Regions from separate parts of the Homo sapiens genome. Here all the other regions are linked to region 2. Evidence: promoter capture Hi-C in 16 types of primary human blood cells and fetal thymus (Javierre and others, 2016). All regions are on one chromosome and are shown on one strand. Each heading gives the region's core, a stretch centred on a gene start or on the middle of the fragment in contact. The rest is flanking DNA. Distances are from core to core; before and after follow the strand shown. Region 1 overlaps CUL9 (cullin 9). Region 2 holds the start of TJAP1 (tight junction associated protein 1). Region 3 overlaps CUL9 (cullin 9).

Evidence for each region. The method cuts DNA at HindIII sites, captures the fragments that hold promoters and counts their contacts. A CHiCAGO score of 5 or more calls a contact.
Region 1: a contact is called between a fragment that was not itself captured here and the fragment with the promoter of TJAP1 in region 2, in 4 of 17 cell types (naive B cells, total B cells, M2 macrophages and 1 more). The highest score is 5.7, in naive B cells.
Region 3: a fragment that was not itself captured here is called in contact with the fragment with the promoter of TJAP1 in region 2 in 2 of 17 cell types (erythroblasts and naive B cells); the score reaches 6.1 in erythroblasts.

What each region holds. Positions count from the first base shown.
Region 1 is chr6:43,193,705-43,198,020 of GRCh38, forward strand. CUL9 (cullin 9) reads left to right here. Exons shown (of 41, transcript NM_015089.4): 10 at 2,365-2,561; 11 at 2,941-3,158. Among named protein-coding and RNA genes, the nearest start is that of CUL9, 14 kb to the left of the region's middle. The HindIII fragment of the contact is 2,325 bases long and covers 1,452-3,776 here.
Region 2 is chr6:43,475,266-43,479,226 of GRCh38, forward strand. It overlaps TJAP1 (tight junction associated protein 1), which reads left to right and starts at 2,305. Exons shown (of 11, transcript NM_001350562.2): 1 at 2,305-2,363; 2 at 2,822-2,967. RefSeq lists an enhancer at 2,655-3,448. The HindIII fragment of the contact is 14,243 bases long and covers 1-3,961 here.
Region 3 is chr6:43,212,282-43,216,475 of GRCh38, forward strand. It overlaps CUL9 (cullin 9), which reads left to right. Exons shown (of 41, transcript NM_015089.4): 27 at 868-1,013; 28 at 1,157-1,286; 29 at 1,432-1,631; 30 at 2,798-3,045; 31 at 3,877-4,194. Among named protein-coding and RNA genes, the nearest start is that of DNPH1, 15 kb to the right of the region's middle. The HindIII fragment of the contact is 2,561 bases long and covers 792-3,352 here.

The DNA.
Region 1 (4,316 bases), core at 1,364-3,863, 280 kb before region 2:
AGGCCAGGGTTAAGAATGACTCCCGGGTGTAAAATTAAGGAGCAGGGTGCATGAAGTGCCCATTTACTGAGAGAGAGAGAATGTTGCAGGAGGAGGAGATATGGGGTGAAGGTCAGGAGTTGAGTTTTCAGGTATATTGAGTGTTCCTGCCTTTTTAGTTATTATTAGGTGTCTGGTTAAAAGCTAATTTTCTAGATGTGACCATTAAACCAAAAGTATTTTTTTTTCCTCTTTTATCTAAGTGGCACCCTTACATAGAAAATACTCTGTTACTAGATTTGGGTAAAACAAAGCCAGCATTGCCATTGCCCAGAGAATCGGGAAGGAAGGCCCTTATCCAGAGTAGCTTACAGAAGAATTGGCTTCCTGGTTACTCCAGACAGAAGTGCTGGCTGGTAGGGTGGTGTGGGCAGAGGAGCTCTGTGTAGCCTGAGGGTTCCTGAGGGAGACAGGCAGGCTTCGGCCAGAGCAGTTCTGAGAATGGATTCCAGTAGTATAATGGCAGCAGCATGAACGGGAGCATGTGTCCTCTTAAAGCAGGCTGTCCCGGGAGAGGCCAGGAGGCGCTTTTCTTTTCTCTTCTCTTTTCTCTTTTTTTTTCTTTTTTCTTTTTTCTTTTCTTTTCTTTTTCTTTGACGGAGTCTTGCTCTGTAGCCCAGGCTGGAGTGCAGTGGCTCAATCTCGGCTCACTGGAACCTCTGCCTCCCGAGTTCAAGCGATTCTCCCGCCTCAGCCTCCCGAGTAGCTGGGATTACAGGCACGTGCCACCATGCCCAGCTTAATTTTTTGTATTTTTAGTAGAGACGGGGTTTCACCATGTTTGCCAGGATGGTCTCAATCTCCTGACCTCATGATCTGCCCGCCTCAGTCTCCCAAAGTGCTGGGATTACAGGTGTGAGCCATCACACCCAGCCTGGGAGGTGCTTTTCTTTATGGGACCAAGAGCAGCCAGGCATTCATAGTCCAGATCATCATGCTCAAAGAATTCCCTGATCCTCTCAAATTACGTGACCAAAACATAGCAATTGCCATCCACTATAGATCATGACAAAAAAATAAAAATAAAAATGGCTGAGTGTGGTGGCTCACGCCTGTAATCCCAGCACTTTGGGAGACCAAGGCGGGTGGATCACCTGAGGTGAGGAGTTTGAGACCAGCCTGGCCAACATGGTGAAACCCTGTCTCTACTAAAAACACAAAATTAGCCGGGCGTGGTGGTGCATGCTTGTAATCCCAGCTACTTGGGAGGCTGAGGCGGGAGAATCGCTTGAACCCAGGAGCGGGAGGTTGCTGTGAGCTGAGATTGCGCCATTGCACTCCAGCCTGGGCGACAGAGTGAGACTTCATCTCAAAAAAATCTTGCCCTGAAATAAAATTACATCATCTTGTTAATAACTTAAAGTCTACAGAACTCAGCTAACTAGGGGAGGGTGGTGTAACTACAGGGAGAAAGCTTCATTGAGAAGTAGAAGTTGCTTGGAGGGTCCAGGCCTTACAAGAGGCATTGTCCTGAGAATTATTTCTAGCCCAGTCCATCTCTCATGGGTTTCTTGTAGAGAATCAACCCTTTTACCAGGAGAGACATTCTCCACTCTGATTGTATAGTGTCTATTTTAATTTAATTTTTCTCTATAGTCCCAGCAAACAGGTTTGCACATTACAATTATTTTTCCTATAATGCCAACCACTGCCTGTGAGACAACCAAGAAGTCTTATCTAGAAGGGCTGGATGCTGGCTAAGGCCAGGAGACACAGGTTTTGGAGACTTGGTGTATAGGTGGTAATTGAAGCAATGTGAATGGACCTGGTTGCCTCAGTGTGGGTGAGTGCAGAGTCCAGAGAAAGGGGACAAGGAACCTTAGTTCCTTGGGGCAAAGGAACACCAGAGAGGTAGGAGAAAAGCCAGGAGGATGTGAAGTCATGGAACTCAAGGGAAGAGAGATTTTGCAAAGGAAGGAGTGCAAGTGAGATGGGAGACAACTGTAAGAAGCCCCTGAAGACAACTAGATGCTGCGAGGGGCACCATCCTGAAGGGAAGATACAGGAGGGGCGGCTGTCCCACTCTGGTAGCCTTGGTGCTGCGAGCCTGGAGGCCAAGAGGAGTGGAAGGCTGATTTTACCATCCAGTCTCAGAGTTTTTTGTTGTTGTTTAGTTTCTTTCCTTTTTTCTTTTCCTTCCTCCCTCCCTCCTTCCCTCTCTTTGTAGTATTTGATGTCCCATCACTACCTCTTCCATTTCTGTCTCCTACTCTACCTATCTGCAAACAGCTCAGCTGCCCCAAAGTTTGAGGTCTAGAATGAGGCCTACCTTTCCTCATGGTGACTCTGCCCCCTCCTCACTCTGCTTTCACATCCCCCTCACAGGCACTGAAGATGCTGGCCGTCGCCAGCTCCTCGGAGATCCCCACTTTTGTTACTGGCCGAGATTCTATCCACTCTTTGTTTGATGCTCAGATGACCAGAGAGATCTTCGCCAGCATCGACTCAGCCACACGCCCGGGCTCTGAGAGCCTGCTCCTCACTGTCCCTGCAGCCGTGATCCTGATGCTGAATACTGAGGGGTCAGGGCATTACCTTCCCAACTCCAGGCTCCTGCTTAGTCCCAAACCCTGCTACTCCTGTGCTCCAGGCTCATGTACTCCACAGAAATTCCCCTCACGCTGTCACCTCCGGATTAAGCATTGGTGGCGCTGCCAACTGTTGTTGGAGGAGAACCCAAGTGGATTGGGGATAGGGAGATTCCCAGAGAGGGCAGAGACACACTGACTTCCCTTTATGGGTTTGGGAGGAGTGGCCCAAGGTCAGGGGATCAGATGTCCTGGCTCAGAGGGCCCACTGGAGCCCTTTGCTCCCTAGCTGCCCGGCCTTCTATGCTTGCTTTGCTGCTTCCATTGCATTCATGGTCTCTCAGTTTCTTCCTGGTCACCTCCCTCCTCCCAGGTGCTCTTCTGCAGCGAGAAATGGCTTACTCCTGCTCAACCTACTTTTGTGCAACCACCACACTCTGGGAGACCAGATTATAACCCAAGAGCTGAGAGACACGTTGTTTAGGCACTCAGGGATAGCACCAAGAACAGAACCTATGCCTACCACACGCACCATCCTCATGATGCTTCTCAATCGCTACTCAGAGCCGCCGGGCAGCCCTGAGCGTGCAGGTACCATTGTGGAGGGGTGGTTTTGCAGAGGAATCACACAGTGCCAGCCAGGTTTACATATCAGCTCCTTACTGGAAAGATACAAGGAAACTTCAGGAAATGAGCAAGCATTGTGCTCAAGTTAGGTCTTAAGTAGAACTTCCCGACCAAGAAGAGGGAGACTGTGGAATATGTGCAAGGAAATTGCATTTTTTTTTTTTTGAGATGGAGTTTTGCTCTTGTTTCCCAGGCTAGAGTGCAGTGGCACGATCTCGACTCACTGTAACCTCTGCTTCCTGGGTTCAAGCAATTCTCATGCCTCAGCCTCCTGTGTAGCTGGGATTATAGGCACCTGCCACCACAGCGGGCTAATTTTTGTATTTTTAGTAGAGACAGGGTTTCACCATGTTGGCCAGGCTGATCTGGAACTCCTGACCTCAGGAGATCCACTGCCTCGGCCTCCCAAAGTGCTGGGATTGCAGGTGTGAGCCACTGCACCTGGCTGGAAATTGCCTTCTTGAATGGCTTTAAACATATGTGGATTCATATCCATCTGGGCTAGGTTTGGCCCAGTATTATTGGACAGTAGAAGACTCATTGAAATGACATCTAGGGAAGCCTTTCTCTTTTTTTGTTTTAAGCTTAACTGGTTTTTTTTTGGAGGTGGAGTCTCACTCTGTCGCCCAGGCTGGAATGCAGTTGCACGATCTCTGCTCACTGCAAGCTCCGCCTCCCGGGTTCAAGGAATTCTCCTGCCTCAGCCTCCTGAGTAGCTGGGATTACAGGTGCGCACCACCACACCCAGCTAATTTTTGTATATTTAGTAGAGACAGGGTTTCACCATGTTGGTCAGGCCGGTTTTGAACTCCTGACCTCGTGATCTGACCGCCTTGGCCTCCCAAAGTGCTGGGATTAGAGGCGTGAGCCACTGTGCCTGGCCTAAGCTTAACTTTCTCTTCACAGAATAGGGAGGCCTTCTTAAGAGAAATTATAATTTATGGTACAGAACACTTGTGCCTGGAAACATTAGATATTGATACTGGGGAAGAAACCCTTTGTGATTGAAAAACAAGTGAAAACCTAGAAGTGTGGAGGGATATTGAAATAGGAAATACGTGGCCAGGTGCAATAGCTCATGCCTTTAATCCCAGCACTTTGGGAGGCTGAGGCAGGCAGATC
Region 2 (3,961 bases), core at 1,055-3,554:
CAACCTCCGCCTTCCGGGTTCGAGCAATTCTCTTGCCTCAGCCTCCTGAGTAGCTGGGACTACAAGTGCATGCCACCATGCCCAACTAATTTTTGTATTTTTAGTAGAGAGGGGGTTTCACTATGTTGGCCAGGCTAGTTTAGTTAGTGTAATTTTATTAAATTAATTTTTAAAAAGATATATAGGATAGAAAGGCATGGATGGGATGGGAAATAAAAATGGCTGACCTCTCCCTCTGGGAATCTGGAAGCCTCTGCTGAGGTTTTTGTGTGTGTGCGTTGATGGGGGGTGGGTACATGAGATCAGCTTCACCAAGGGGCAGACCAGCTCCATCTCTAGGCCCAGGGAAATGGGATACCTTGCTGCTCTGAAATGTTGATGAGCTGCGGAGGGGAGAGGGACAGGGGAGCAGATGGAATTCCTGGACAATTGTTCCGGCTGTCACCAGAGAGGATAGGCTGGAGGGGGCCCTGGATAATTTATGGAGGGACAGATGCTTCTCCGGAACCATCTGGCCAAGAGAGGCCTGGGCTCGGGGTGGATGATGTCTTTAGGTCTGAGGAGACTCCTGGCCTCCAGCCTTCCTCATTTCCTCTACCTGGCCTGCTCGGTGCCCTGGGGCTTTCCTAGGATGGCTGTGCTCCCTGAGGACCCAGCTGCAGAATTCCACCTGATCCTCATCTCACTCTCTCCTTTGCTGAGTCTGGGGCTTGTCTTTGCTACCATTCCTGTTAGTGCTAAGTGGGGCCTTGAGGTCATGTAACTTCCATCTATGCATTTTCTTATTTTATAGTATTTTCAACCCCTCTTCTCCACCAGTATATTCCAAAATCTGTCAATCACCAACCTCCATACCATTTATTCATTCAATAAATATTTACTGGCCGGTGCAGTGGCTCACACCTGTAATCTCAGCACTTTGGGAGGCTGAGGCAGGTGGATCACTTGAGGTCAGGAGTTCGAGACCAGCCTGGCCAACATGGTGGAATGGTGGAACTCCCATCTCTACTAAAAATACAAAAAATTAGCTGGCATGCGCCTGTAATCCCAGCTACACAGGAAACTGAGGTGGGAGAATCACTTGAACCCGGGAGGCGGAGGTTGCAGTGAGCCGAGATCGCACCACTACACTCCAGCCTGGGCAACAGAGTGAGACCCTGTCTCAAAAATTAATTAATTAATTAAACAAACAGAATAAAAAAAATCTATTGAATACCTACTATGCCAGGCATTGTTTTAGACACTGGGGATACTGTGATGAGCAAGAAAACATCCCAGACCTCTGGAGTTTGCTTTGTAGTGGGGAGATGATCAATAAACAATAAATATTTAATATAATGTCAGATAATGATAAGTACTATGAATGAAAACATTAAAGCAGGGTAAAGGAGAATAGGGATGCTGATTTAGATTGAGTGGCCAAGGAAGGCTTCTCTAAAGTGATGACACTTGAGCAAAGACACAAATGAGAGTCAATATTTGGAGGAAGAACATTCCAGGTATGGGGAATAGCAAATTTAGAGACCCTGAGGCAGAAATATGCTTAATGCATTGGAGGAAAACATGCCATTTATTCATTAGGCAATTATTGTGTGCCAAGCACCTGCTAGGGAGTATGAAGATGCAATCAAACATAGTTTTTGCCCTGAAGAAGCAGCAGGGCAAAAGTGGTATAACATGTAAATAAATAATTACACTGCACGGGACAGCTACAGTAAAGCTATGTACAAGTTGCTAGTGATGCCCAGCAAAAGGAGCACTAAAGGGAAATCTTTCTGGGGGAGGTGACATTTTAGCTGATGGTTTGAAGGAATAGGAGGAATTGATGATGCAAAGGAGGAGGAGAGAGATTAGACATCTTAAGGCCCGATGTCCTGAAAACAAAGGACAATTTGGGAACCTGAAGTTCCCAGGAGAGGCAAAAAATGAGGCTGATGAAGGTGGAAGAGCCTGGATCATGCGGATCTTTGAATGCCAAACTGAAAAGCTGGTTTTATTCTCTGGATGACGGGGAACCAGTAGCACGATTCTCTCTCCCACTGTATCTTTGAGATGTGTTCCCCTATTCTTTTTTTTTTTTTTTTTCTTTCAGTACTGGATTCTTTCCCCGCTTCCCGCTATTGCCCTGCTCCTGACACCTCCTTCCTTCTGTGGCCAGTCCTCCAATCCCTGCTTTCAGGAGAGCCCCATTTTTCACCATCACCTACCTAGTGTCCCACCTCCCCAACCCGAGGCCCCGCCCCCATGGCCCCGCCTCAGATGACGCGACACGCCAAGTGCGTGGGGATTCCCGCGGCCCTGGCCACTACCCGGCCTGCCCCGCGGCAAGATGGCGGCCTGAACGCAGCTGGCAGCGGCGGAAAGTTTGTTGTGGGGTTGGAGTAGTCGGGCGGGGAAGCCAGAGTTGGGGAGGATTGCGGGGGCCCTAGCCTGTAGTAGGGGCGAAGGGGGTACTGGCTCCAGGGTTGAAAAGAGGAGATGGAATGGAGTAAGGTCCGAGGCGGAGAGGAAAAAAAGGAGCTGGGGCGGACCGGGGCCCTAGGGTCCAGTGGCAGCCCTAGGGGAGGGGGATTTGGGGGCGGGGCAGCCAGAAGTAGGTGTTGTGCAGGCCCTGGAGAAGCAGAGTCACAAGTTGGAGGAAAATTTCTTAGCCGCGAATAAAGAAGCCTGGAGCGTGGGATAGAGGCCCGACTGTATCTGGCCGGCCAGAGGGGAAAGGGATCTTTCTAGTAGAGTGGGATAGTGAGGAAGAGAGATCTGGAGGATGCCGGGCAGATCTGCTAAGGAGGGAACTAAAGCCAGTCAAATGACCCTCTTCTAGGCTTAGATCAGCCTTTCCACAGCTGTTAGCAGCATCTGCCCCAATTTCAGCTGAAGATTCAGGTGCCCCAGGGACTGGAAGAAATTACAGTGCCTACTTGGAAAGAAGAAGAGATAGCGACTTGCCCCAGTCCAACCCCAGAGCGGGTAAGGTGGCTTCCAGTGACAGGTTTCTGGCTGGCATGCTCCCTGGGAGGAGGATGCATGGGCTTAGAGTGATGCCAAGAAACATTTGGTCTGAAAAGGGCTCACTTTTATAGAGTTTGTCCTTTGTCTGAGGTCCTTAAGTTAGTGTTTGGCGTAGATTGCAGGCTGACTTTTGAGAGTTGGTGTAGAATTAAGCCTTGTGTGCCTTCACCTATGCAAGTAAACCTGGACAGAGGCCTAGAGACCAGGCCGAAGGATGTTAACACATCCCTGTCACAAGCAGTTTCCTACATGCTCATTGTTTCTGCTTCAATATCCCCATCACTTCTTCACTTTGGCGTCCTGCCTGGAAGTGGAGATTTGTGGGTGACAGATGGTGGGGAGTCACGAGAAAACAAATTCTGATCGTGTTCACTGACCATTTAGGTACCTGCTGTCACTGACTCCTGAATTCATTCTCGCTGTGTGTCTACTTTTGCTTTTTTGGTAAGAAGGGCTCATTAGTGTTCCTCTGGGGATGTGGATTTTGGTGGGGGTATCAGAGGTGAGGGAAAGGCAGGTTGGGATTAGAGAGAAAAAATGTAGATCAGTTTCTGGTAAGAGATCAAGTGGACTGATGTAAAGCTCTGGGAATGTTTAGCACCGCACTGCCTATCCTTGAGACCCCTAATATTTGAGAGCTACTTTACAGTTGGACAAGTGTGGTGATGCAAAGAAAGGATCATGGAACTTGCTCTTTTCTTTTCTGGTAGTTTTTTTCTCTCCTTTGTAATCTTCCCATCAAACCACTTTTGAAAAATATCAGTCTCAGTAGCCAAACTAAGCATGGCCTGAGAGGTAGTGGATTTGGTGTTGGAGAGAAAGGAAAGGGACTGGAGCCAGAGAACACAGTGAATGTGGCCTTCACTTCCTTTGGTGAGTGTTTTGCCCTAGCCAGAGTTGGGAGTAGCCTTCTTATTGAAGCCTGCTTCAGGATCAGCATCGCTTCATGGTG
Region 3 (4,194 bases), core at 822-3,321, 260 kb before region 2:
AGTCTTGTCTATACATTACATGTAATTTTCCATCAGCTTTTCACCAGGCAGGCATTTCTACCATTGCTTAGGTCTATCATTTCATTAGGGGTTTTGAAATAGTTATATCTAGTTCTGTCACTCCTTCTTCATGTATTAGCTGGAATGCTTTCAAGAGAAACCCTTTCACTAACTGTTTATCTACCCTGAAGTCCGGTTTATACAGGAAAGGCTTGATTGTTTCCACTTCCAATTATTTTTAACTCATTTTAAAAATAATATGGTGGTTCTCTAGTAACTTTTAAATAAAACCAATGAGGTCTTTTAAAAATATATCATTATGAACTCACAGATTTTAAAATATTTTGTGTGGTTCCATCACACATTGCAGGTGGATTTTTTTTTTTTTGGATTCTCAAATTGTCCCATCTTTGGTAAGACAGCATCTCTCAGGCAGGCTCCTAGTCCCTTTAATACTCTCCCTTTGACAGCTTCCTTGCTTTCCAGTATGAACAGATGTCTCAGGCTCACCTTGCCTGAGCTGTGAAACAGGAGGAGGAAGAGATCCAGCCCAGTGGGTCTTTAAAACTGTGAGCTCCTTGAGGGCAAAATGCAAGTGTTTTCTCTCTGGTGTTTTTGCATGGAACCTGCCTGGCTCAGGGCTAGGCGCTGGGTCTAGGGATGGGCTCCTAGATACCCGTGGCTCATCAGGGAGGCAGGCGCAGGGAAGGCTGAGATCTGGAAGCTTGACAAGGTATCTCTCTGTCTGAAAATGCTGGGGCCCTCCTCCCCATAGGGACTAGTAGGAGCAAAGCTTGACACCTCAACCCCTAAACCCCTTGTTTCGCCCATTCTGTGTCTCCACCCTTCTCCTTGACACTTGCCTAGGTCAGAACCATCCAGTCCTGGACATGGGACCACATCGGCGACTGCAGTGGACGTGGCTGGGCCGGGCTGAGCTGCAGTTTGGGAAGCAGATACTGCATGTGTCCACCGTGCAGATGTGGCTGCTGCTGAAATTCAATCAGACAGAGGTGCTTCAGCCCTTAGCCTCTCTCTGCCTTCTCTGCTACCTTATCTGTCGCTGTTCTCCTCCTAAACCCTGTTCCTCCTTCATCCTTACTCCCCTCTTCCTTTTCTTTCCTTTGACTCCTGACTGGGCGTTTCTGCTCATCAGGAGGTGTCAGTAGAGACCTTGCTGAAGGATTCTGACCTCTCCCCAGAGCTGCTGCTCCAGGCACTCGTGCCCCTCACCTCAGGGAATGGCCCTTTGACCCTGCATGAGGGCCAGGACTTTCCACACGGGGGTAGGTCATTGGGGGCCGGGCTGAGCCTCTGCTGCTGGTCGGGGGGTCGCCCTCAAGATGGGGGGACTGTGAGAATGGGGTCATCTTAGTCCCCATTCATCTGTCCCTCTGCCTCCTCTGGTACCTGACCGGGAGCGGGTTCCAGGTGTGCTGCGGCTTCATGAGCCTGGGCCCCAGCGCAGTGGGGAGGCCCTGTGGCTGATACCTCCCCAGGCATACCTGAACGTAGAGAAGGATGAAGGCCGAACCCTGGAACAGAAGAGGAATCTCTTGAGCTGTCTTCTTGTTCGTATTCTCAAAGCCCATGGGGAAAAGGGCCTCCACATTGATCAGCTGGTTTGTCTGGTAGGCAGAGAGGGGACCATGAAGTTGGCGGAGGGAGGGAGTCATGCTTGGGATTGGGGATGAACACAGTGAACTCTTTCAATATAAGACTTCTGTAGGGTGACATTTCCATCTGGGTTTTCTGTTCCTGACAGAGCAGATAGACAGCAGATAAAGATAAGGCATGAGTGTTTACCATGAACCAGGCCCTATGCTAAGAGTTTGCATGATTAAGTCATTTAATCCAGCCAGGTACAGTGGCTCATATCTGTGATCCTAGCACTTTGGGAGGCCAAGGCAGGCGGATCACTTGAGGCCAGGAGTTTGATACCAGCCTGGCCAACATGGCGAAACCCTGTGTCTACCAAAAATATAAAAATTAGCTGGGCATGGTGGCACATGCCTGTAATCCCAGCTACTTGGGAGGCCGAGGCATGAGAATTGCTTGACCCAGGAGGCGGAGGTTACAGTGAGCCAAGACTGCCACTGTACCCCAGCCTGGGCAACAGAGCAAGACTCTGTCTCAAAAAGAAAAAAAGTCATCATTTAATCTTCACAACAATCCTAGAAATGTTATTTTATTTCATTTGACAGATAAGAACAGTGAAGTATGAGAAACTTAGTAGTGGCCGGGCGCGGTGGCTCATGCCTGTAATCCTAGCACTTTGGGAGGCTGAGGTGGGTGGATCACTTGAGGTCAGGAATTCGTGACCAGCCTGGCCAATATGATGAAACCCCATCTCTACTAAAAATACAAAAATTAGCCAGGCGTGGTGGTGCACACTTGTAGTCCCAGTTACTTGGGAGGCTGAGGCGGTAGAATCACTTGAACCCAGGAGGCAGAGATTGCAGTGAGAGATGGTGCCACTGCACTCCAGCCTGGGCAATAGAGTGAGACTGTTGGGAAAAAAAAAAAAGAGAGAAACTTAGTAACTAATCCACAATCACACAGCTAGTAAGTGGCAGAGCTGCCAGACACCATGGCTCATGCAGGAGGATTACTTGAGTCCAGGAGTTTGAGGGTGCAGTGAGCTGTGATCAGGCCACTGCACTCTGGCCTGGGTGACAGAGCAAGACTGTCTCTTAAAAAAAAAGGGGGGGAAAAATAAGTGGCAGAGCTGGGCATTGAGCCCAGCAGCCTGCTCCCTACATAAAAGTGGACTTCTTGTTTCTTTCCTCCTATCCAGGTGCTGGAGGCCTGGCAGAAGGGTCCAAATCCTCCTGGAACCCTGGGCCACACTGTTGCTGGGGGTGTGGCCTGTACCAGTACAGATGTCCTCTCTTGCATCCTGCACCTCTTAGGCCAGGGCTACGTGAAACGGCGTGATGACCGGCCCCAGATCCTGATGTATGCCGCTCCAGAGCCCATGGGGCCCTGCCGGGGTCAGGCAGATGTCCCTTTCTGTGGCAGCCAGAGCGAAACCTCCAAGCCCAGGTAGCCACTGCACCTGACCCCTTGCAGTGAGGCGGGAGAGGTGGTCATGCCAAAGCCAAGATCCCTTGTGGAGAAACACTTCCCTTCTTTCTTTGTCTGATCCCCTTTTCCCTATCCCTGTTATTTCCCTGACTTTGGTAGTTTTTATTGACCCTCCCAGCACCACCACCCCTTTCCAATCAGAGGCCTGCAAATATGTATTGAGTGCTAACTATGTACTCTACTCAGTTAAATATACAAACTTTCAGGAAGTTTGTTCTACAGAGGAATTTGCCATAGGATTTCTCTAATCAACCAGCACCCCTAAAGCTTTTTAATGTTCATTGGAAGCTGTTATGGCCCTGCTTTTCATGCCTGCTGTTTGCATCATGTGTAAAGTGAATTATCGCGAGTAATCTTTCTCAAACCTCAACATGGCGCCAGTGTTAAAATGCAGATTTAACAGCAGAGCTCTCTGTGCTGCCTGTGCTGCTGGTCCACAGACCACACTTGAGCAGTAAGGATGGAGACTCCTGTTCTCACTACAGGTGCTGCCACCATTTGGGGTGAGACCTACAGTGGGACTGTCCCATCAGCTATTGGTCTCTTAGCACCCTGACCCCTAGATACCTATTTTGTCCCCAGTCATTGCAACAGCCAGCCCCACCCTGACATTTACAGGTGCTTCTGTGGAGGATCTGCTCTGACGGTTGGTTTGGGTGGTTATCCTGAGGCTGCTTAGGCAAGCGAGCAAGTATGCTCAAAGAGGGAGCTGGGGGCCAGGTGGGGTTCAGTTAGTAGGCTGGATAGCAGGGCAGGAATACTGACTTCTGTCTCTTCCCTCCCCACAAGCCCAGAAGCTGTGGCTACCCTGGCATCTCTACAGCTGCCTGCAGGCCGCACCATGAGCCCCCAGGAAGTAGAAGGGTTGATGAAGCAGACGGTGCGTCAGGTGCAGGAGACGCTGAACTTAGAGCCAGATGTCGCTCAGCACCTTTTGGCTCATTCCCACTGGGGCGCTGAACAGCTGCTGCAGAGCTACAGTGAGGACCCTGAGCCACTGCTGCTGGCAGCTGGGCTGTGCGTACACCAGGCTCAGGCTGTACCCGTACGGCCTGACCACTGCCCCGTCTGTGTGAGCCCCCTGGGGTGTGACGACGACCTGCCCTC